Regions from separate parts of the Homo sapiens genome. Here region 1 is linked to region 2. Evidence: promoter capture Hi-C in 16 types of primary human blood cells and fetal thymus (Javierre and others, 2016). All regions are on one chromosome and are shown on one strand. Each heading gives the region's core, a stretch centred on a gene start or on the middle of the fragment in contact. The rest is flanking DNA. Distances are from core to core; before and after follow the strand shown.

Region 1 (4,081 bases), core at 1,367-3,866, 590 kb after region 2:
CATTCCATTTTTGTTTATAGTTATTTCCAGGACCCTTGGCTATAAAGAAAGTCAAAATGACTTTTAAAAACCTACTGAGGCTGGGCGTGGTGGCTCACACCTGTAATCCCAGCACTTTGGGAGGCTGAGGCGGGCAGATCACAAGGTCAGGAGTTCAAGACCAGCCTGGCCAATATGGTGAAACCCCGTCTCTACTAAAAATACAAAAATTAACCGGGCGTGGTGGTGGGTGCCTGTAATCCCAGCTACTCGAGAGCCTGAGGCAGGAGAATCGCTTGAACCCGGGTGGCGGAGGTTGCAGTGAGCCGAGATTACGCCATTGCACTCCAGCCTAGGCGACACAGCAAGACCCCATCTCAAAAAAAACAAAACAAAACAAACCTACTGGAAGACTGAGTGCCACTTGGAAGAGACTGTTCATTGTTCCAGGGTCTACAGGGAACACAGACCTATCTTTTTAAAGATCAAGTTCGGTTCCAGAGAATCTATTAGAGGAAGAACGAGGGAGCTGAAGAGAGTAGGAGAGTATAAAATGGAAAATGCATTACCAGATTCAACACTAACTTCTCCGAGTTTAAGATGTGCCTGGGCAGCATAAAGCTGTGCTTCTTTTGTTTCTTGCCTAAAAGAAGGAAAATTGATCAAAAACCTTAACAGTACCTGTCTAACCCTAACTGGTTTCTATTTAACCACCAAACTCCCAACCCAAGCCTAGAAGCACCAAGAGTTTTACCTTTTAAAAATGATCTTTGCTAAATCCAGCATATCCCAGGCAAGCTCTAGGTTCCCAATCTCCTCCTCCTCATTTTCTTGAAGAGACTAAAGTATAACCAAATAATAAAAAGATAGGCATCTTTTTCAAATACAAATCTAAATGTATAACTTAGCGTAGCTTAAAAAAAGTTGATATACGATTCAAAATTTGGACTTTCTCCCTAAAATCTAGAGAATGGGTCCACATACTGTCTTAAGTCATGACCATGTCACTGATATTTTAACAGTGAAATGTTGGCTCACATACTAACACACAAGAACCCCAGGATCAAATATATCCACCCATCCTAGGCATGAATAAAGGGTCCCTAATCCATAATCAAGAGACAGTTATCTATAATAATCATGCCTAGGGCTGGGCATGGTGGGTTATGCCTATAATCCCAACACTTTGGGAGGCTGAGGCAGGAGAATAACTTGAAGCCAGGTTTGAGACCAGCCTGGGCAGCACAGCAAGACAGCCGTCTAAACAAAATAAAATTAGAGAACAAATTAGCCAGACATGGTGGCAGACATCTGGAGACCTAGCTATCTGAGAAGATGAGGCAGAAGGATTCCTTGAACCCAGGAGGCTAAAGATACAGTGAGCCCTGATCATGCCAGTGCACTCCGGCCTGGGCAGAGACAGAGATTCTATCTCTTAAAAAAATAATAATCGTGCCTAAACTAGGTAAGCTACAGTCCTGCAAACTAGCTGGGCATGTTGGCACAAGCCTGTAGTCCCAGCTACTTGAGAGGCTGAGGTGAGGCGATCACTTAAGCCCGGGTCTAGGCTGCAGTGAGCCATGATCATGATCACCCCACTGCAATCCAGCCTAGGCAACAAGAGTGAGCTCCAGTCTCCCAAAAACAGAAAAAGGCTGACAACAGTACTGAGTGGCTAACAACATACCTTGTTTTCAAGGACTGAATCATTTGGCATTTCTTCGGTCTTATCATTTTCTTTATCATCCTCTTCTGAGCCTTCAGTTTCTACAAGTAAAAATTCCTCAGTATTGAGAATATAACTAAGAACGTATTCTGACTAGTCAGAGATTCCAATACACGTCTCAACCTATATTCAGATAGGACAGGCCAGATGCTAATCCAAGTGAGTTAACACCTGAACTGAATATATCGTCAGTGGGTGCAGTCTAGTTCAAGTGTAACCTAGACTAAGAATGTGCAATCTTAGTCTATGGGTCAGACCTTCAGCAATTAAAAGGCTGAGTGTTTCTCTTATAAAAGTCAACCTGGACCATTCAGAATAAGAAACATTGGCTACTGCCTCTTATTCAATGGCTAGAAGCTCCCATTCATTCAGCCAGAAGCAGGTGGAGACCTCAGTCAGTGTTTCTGGTATCTTTAAGCCACTCATTAGATAATACTAATAGCCTGGGAAAGTACGAAAGTTAAATTATTCCAGTCCATTCTGATCAAGAATGCTCAAGAGACTAGCTTTCCCACAACAGAGATGTGGAGCAAAAAGCATAGTCCTTACCGACTTACACCAATGAGCATGCCACAGACTCCAGCCAGCTCTAGCACATACAGAATTTGAGTAAGGAATACTATAACCCCTATTTTACTCCTATACCTTTGCTAATGACACCTCTAAAATCTGCAGCCATATATCAACACCATATTTCACCATATTGAATACACTCACAAGTCAACCATCTAAAGGTCAGGCTCCTAATCAATAGCGCTACTGTGATTAGACAAATCAACAATGTTAAGTGATTAAAATAAGCTTTCTGTTAACACAAACAACTCATGAATTGGATATAATATGCCTCTCTCTGCCATCTTTCATTATGCATTTTTAACACCAGCAAAAAAGCTCAAACACTATCTCCAAACACTCTTACTATGGGAATATAAATATGGCAATTAGGACTTAGAGCAATCGTCAGGTCAAAGGAGTTTTATCAGCAGCAACCACAAAGAGATTCCGTTTTCAAAGAAGCTTAGAAAATACTTTAACAGGGTCAGGCGCGGTGACTCACGCCTGTAATCCCAGCTCTTTGGGAGGCCGAGGCGGGCGGATCACGAGGTCAGGAGATTGAGACCATCCTGGCGAACATGGTGAAACCCCGTCTCTACTAAAAAAAAAAACCAAAAAACAAAAAAATTAGCCAGGTGTGGTGGCAGGCGCATGTAGTCCCAGCTACTTGGGAGGCTGAGGCAGGAGCATGGCGTGAACCCAGGAGGTGGAGCTTGCAGTGAGCGGATTATCGCACCACTGCACTCCAGCCTGGGTGACAGAGCAAGACTCCGTCTCAAAAAAAAAAAAAAAAAAAAAAGATACTTTAACAAATTTACTGAGGACATCAGGGCATTGCCATTGATACCTGGGCACAAGTTGGGAAAGGTTTTAAAGTAATGGCAATGGCTGCCAGGCGCGGTGGCTCACACCTGTAATCCTAGCACTTTGGGAGGCCAAGGTGGGCAGATCACCAGGTCAGGAGATTGGGACCATCCTGGCTAACACGGTGAAACCCCGTCTCTACTAAAAATACAAAAAATTAGCCAGGCGTGGTGGCACATGCCTGTAGTCCCAGCTACTCGGGAGGCGGAGGCAGAACAATCACTTGAACCTAGGAGGCGGAGGTTGCAGTGAGCCTAGATCACGCCACTGCATTCCAGCCTGGGTGACAGAGCAAGACTCTGTCTCAAAAAAAAAAAAAAAAAAAAAAAAAAAAGTAATGGCGATGGCTTTCTCCTTAACCTAGCTCCCCACCATTCCTTGAAGATGGTACAGATTCCTCAAGAGGAACCAGTAATATTCTTCTGAAGCAATTATAGGAATTTTAATTTAAAAATTTGATGTAAAACTTCCAAGTAATTAAGATATTTTGTTTCAAATTAGAGGTTGTCTTCTAGTATTCTGGTATGAGTAGGAAGAGATACCAGGTAAGAATAGAAGATAACAATATCAATTTAATTTTTCCTACAAATTGGGAAGATGAAGTATTTACTTTTCTATCAATTATCCTACATATGTAAATCTACTTCAGCTTTTCTGCATATTCTGCTAGAGGATGGGCAGAGTTAATAAGACCATCCATCTGGTCTAACTTTGGGGAACTAAGCCCGGACCCACTTGGAAATGTGGATATGAGAAGATAATGGTGTATGGTGGGCCAGGTGCAATGGTTCACACCTGTAATCCCAGCACTCTGGGAGGCTGAGGCTAGTGGATCACCTGAGGTCAGGAGTTCGAGACCAACCTGGCCAGCATGGTGAAATCCCATCTCTAGTAAAAATACAAAAAAATTAGTCGGGCCTGGGGACATGTGCCTTTAGTCCCAGCTACTCAGGAGGC
Region 2 (3,959 bases), core at 1,258-3,757:
TTGTCCTTCCTGGGTGCAACCCAGTAGGCAGGGCAGAGCACAAGAAGAGATTAATATTAATAACATCCTGGCCTGAGGAAGGAGAAAAAATAGGATGGGGATCTCTCCTCATTCTGGCCCCAGAAGGCTCCCTCCCTTGTGCCCTTTCTCGGGCAGCCTCAGGCCCCAGGCAAGCTGGGTCAAGAATACAGAGAGACAAAATCAAAAGTTAAATGCAGCCCCTTAAAGTTTACAGATAGTTTCCACCAAGGCAGAGAAGAGAGCCAGAGACTGGGCGTGGCTCTTCCACTGACTCCCTATGTGAGTTCAGAATCTGCAAGCACGTTTTATCTGTAAGATGGGAGAAATGATGACCAGTTTTCTCATTTCAATGACATAAAATGTTCAGACTATCTGGCACAAAGCAGGTCTCAAAGTAAAGATGCAAAGTGCAGTCAGATGATCTGGGTTCAAATCATGGCCCTGCTTTTTGCGTGATGTTGGGCAGTTATTAAACTCCCTGTGCCTCTGTTTTCTTTTCTTTTCTCCTCCCTCCCTCCCTTCCTCCCTTCCTCCCCTTCTTCCCCTTCTTTTTTTGAGACAGGGTCTAGCTCTGAGCTCTGTCACCCAGGCTGGAGTGCAGTGGTGCGATTTCAGCTCACTGCAACCTCCTCTTCCTGGGCTCAAGTGATCCTCCTGCCTCTGCCTCCAGAGTAGCTAGGACTACAGGCACACACCACAACACCCATCTAATTTTTGTATTTTTTGTAGAGACAGGGTCTTGCTTTGTTGCCCAGGCTGGTCTCAAACTCCTGGGCTCAAGCGATCTGCCTGCCTCGGCCTCCCAAAGTGCTGGGATTACAGGCGTGAGCCACCATGCCCACCCTGTGCCTCAGTTTCTCCATCTATAAAATATCACTTAACAGGGTTACTGTGGAGATGAAGAGAGCATCATGTAAAGTGCTCAGCAAGCTGCCTGGCACATGCACTGGGTGAAAGTTTTCAAAGCAAGTAGACAGTCTAGATAGGCTCTTACTAGGCCTTGAGCTAAAGTTTGTACAGTGAGGCAAAGGCAAGCCCCCGCTTAGGTGGGTACAGTCACAGCCTTGCTCTGGAGAATTGGGCACTCACCTCCAACCTTCAAGGCCAAGTGCACACTTGGCATTCAAGTCCTTCTCCCAGGGGGCCTTTCCTGACTGCTCCACCCACCAGACTCTCTTCCCAGCCTCTCAGCTCAGGCGTCGGAGCCCTGGCTGGTCTCAGAGCCCCCATGATTTCCTTCCCCTTCTCCTTCACAGACCAGCTTGGCACAGGCTGGGCACACAGGAAGACTTTAGCTGACGTACTCACTGTGGGCTCCTGGTTGTGAGCCAGGAAGCCGATGGCAATTCCTCAGTTCCCCAGAACTGGCTGCAAAGTAGTGGCAGGTGTAAATCACCCACTTCACCGGAATCAGGGCCCTGGGGAACCTGCCAGGGCCTCGGCTGCCCTTTTGGCTCTGAATCTAGACCAGCAGCAATAGAGAAAGGGGAGGGTTGCTGTTTCCTCTTCTCCCCAAGAATGTACAGATGAGATCCAAATATCCAGTTTACCTGGAAGACTGGCTGGGAGGAGACTGAGTCTGAGGCGAGGGAATCAGCACCAGTGGTGCTGCTACTCTCTGTCCCTGCTATGGGTCTAGGAACTTTCCATTATTTTAAGTAGGGCTGGGGGATGTAGAGGAAACGGAGAAGGTTTTCAGTGCCCCTGGTCCAGGTAGTTTTCAGCAGATAGGCCCCTTTACCCACTTCTTTTCTGTGCGGAACACTGCGGCCTCACAGGAACTTAAACCCTTTCCCGGTTAGCAGAAGGAGAAAAAACCGGTTGCCTTACAACGGGGACTGGCGGGGAATAGGTGGCCCATACAGGCGGGGGGAATTTGTGCTGCGTTGGGTTCTCAGTACTTCCCAGTCCTCATCTCTCTCCTCCCAATTATTTGGCAGGAATAACTTCCAAAACCCACTGCTCCCAACCCAAGTCCTCAGGACCATCAACACCCCACTCACTCTTGGGGGACAAGTAATGGACGTCACTCCATCTCCACCCCAGCGTTTACGGATTGATCTGGGAGGGATTCTGAGCAGTTAGGTGGAGAGTTTTAACTACCTCCTCTCCAGCTTAACTCTGGGAGCATGAGTTCGTCCCTCCCGGCCCTACACTAGGGACTCGTCCCCTTGGCCCATGGATTCAGCACTCACCAGCTCCATCTTCAGCGCCATGATCTTGTCCCCCAAGTCGTGGCCGGTGCTAGACGCCCCTGGGAGCAGCAGGGCGCCAGAGGTTCCCAGCTCACACTCGCCTCGCAGCCCGCGGAGCAGCCCTTCAGGGGTCTTCCTGCCCACCTTACCCTCCACATCCCGCAGGTCAGGCGTCTGGGACTCCACGGTCCCCTCCATGCGGGCCCAAGCCTGAAAAGGGCTGGGCGACCGGACGCCGGGGACCGGCTCCCGGGGGTCCTCCCTTCGCCGCTGCTAAAGCGGAGCAAAACCGGTGGGTCCCCGCCCGCGCGGCGCGGGGGCGGGAGGAGGGCGCCGTAACACTCAGAAAAGCCGCGCAGCACCGTCTGTGGATGTATTCGAGTGCTGCGCACACAACCTCTGGCCCTGGATTGCGTGGGGCTGGGCGATTCTGGAGTTGGACCTGAAAGAGCACTCGGAGACCTCAGCGCCTTCGCCCCACCCTGGCACTGAATCCAGCCAGGCACACAGCAGGCGCCCAATACATGTTTGCAGAATGAAGTCTAAGCAGCTTCAGTCAGAGATGTGGGAGTTTAAGGAACAGCGGTAACAGAGAGCTGCAGAGGGCTTGGAAGTCTTCCTGGAGCAGAGGAATTGGGTATAAAACGATGACTGGATTTTAGCTAGACACACACACACACACACACACACACACACACACACACCACCCCCCCCCCCCAGGGGCTAGAATTCAGGCTAACGGAGTAGAAAAGGGCAACCAGTACTGAAGCTGAAGAGGTCCACGTTGGGCTTACAAGCAAGATGCTCCTTAAGCTTGACTGTGCGTATGAATTATCTGCGGATCTTGTTAAAATGTAGGTTCTGATTTTGTAAATCTGGGGTGGGGCTTGAGATCCTGCATTTTTTTTTTTTTTTTTTTTTTTTTTTTGAGACAGAGTCTCGCTCTGTCGCCCAGGATGTAGCGTGGTGGCGCGATCTTGGCTCACTACAAACCTCTGCCTCCCTGGGTTCAAGCAATTCTCCTGCCTCTGCCTCCTGAGTAGCTGGGATTACAGGCATGCGCCACCATGCCCAGCTAATATTTTTGTATTTTTAGTAGAGACAGGGTTTCACCATGTTGGCCAGGCTGGTCTTGAACTCCTGACTTCAAGTGATCCGCCTGCCTTGGCCTCCCAAAGTGCTGGGATTACAGGTGTGAGCCACTGCGCCCAGCCAAGATCCTGCATTTCTAATAAGCTCCCAGGTGATGGCCATGCTGCTGGTCCACACTTCAAGTAATAAGGGACCACACTTTGAGTAACAAGGTTACAGAAAATGGTTCTGAGATGTTTGGGTTTTATTTAACAGGTAATGAACAGCCATGAAAACTCTGGTTTGTTTAGGCTTTTAATTCAAGTAATTCCAGCCCATGGTTGCAGAAGGATTTACAATGAGAAGATAGTTACCCCTACCCTACCCTTTCACACCTCTAGGCCCACTCCCAATTGGCAAAAAATAACTTTTAGTTTTTTTTTTTCTTTTGGTGTTCATACCCATAACGTTATTGTTTAGAGTTAACTAAAAGTGGTTGCCAATTGGGAGTGGGCCTAGAGGTGTGAAAGGGTAGGGTAGGAGTAACTATCCTCTTATTGTAAATCCTACCACTATTTTTTCTTTTTTAGAGACAGGGTCTTCCTACATTGCCCAGGCTGGACTCAAACTCCTGGGCTCAAGCAATCCTCCTGCCTCCCAAGCAGCTGTGAC

Evidence for each region. Contacts are between HindIII fragments. The CHiCAGO score rates a contact against its expected background, and 5 or more counts as called.
Region 1: a fragment that was not itself captured here is called in contact with the fragment with the promoter of LURAP1 in region 2 in 2 of 17 cell types (M0 macrophages and M1 macrophages); the score reaches 6.2 in M0 macrophages.

Annotation. Positions count from the first base shown.
Region 1 is chr1:45,610,834-45,614,914 of GRCh38, reverse strand. NASP (nuclear autoantigenic sperm protein) reads right to left here. Exons shown (of 15, transcript NM_002482.4): 7 at 1,667-1,746; 8 at 734-819; 9 at 549-622. Among named protein-coding and RNA genes, the nearest start is that of CCDC17, 11 kb to the left of the region's middle. The HindIII fragment of the contact is 216 bases long and covers 2,509-2,724 here.
Region 2 is chr1:46,201,882-46,205,840 of GRCh38, reverse strand. It overlaps LURAP1 (leucine rich adaptor protein 1), which reads right to left and starts at 2,507. Exons shown (of 2, transcript NM_001013615.3): 1 at 2,217-2,507. The coding sequence starts at 2,414. It also overlaps a transcript of POMGNT1 not described here. RefSeq lists a silencer at 2,467-2,586. The HindIII fragment of the contact is 3,345 bases long and covers 1-3,031 here.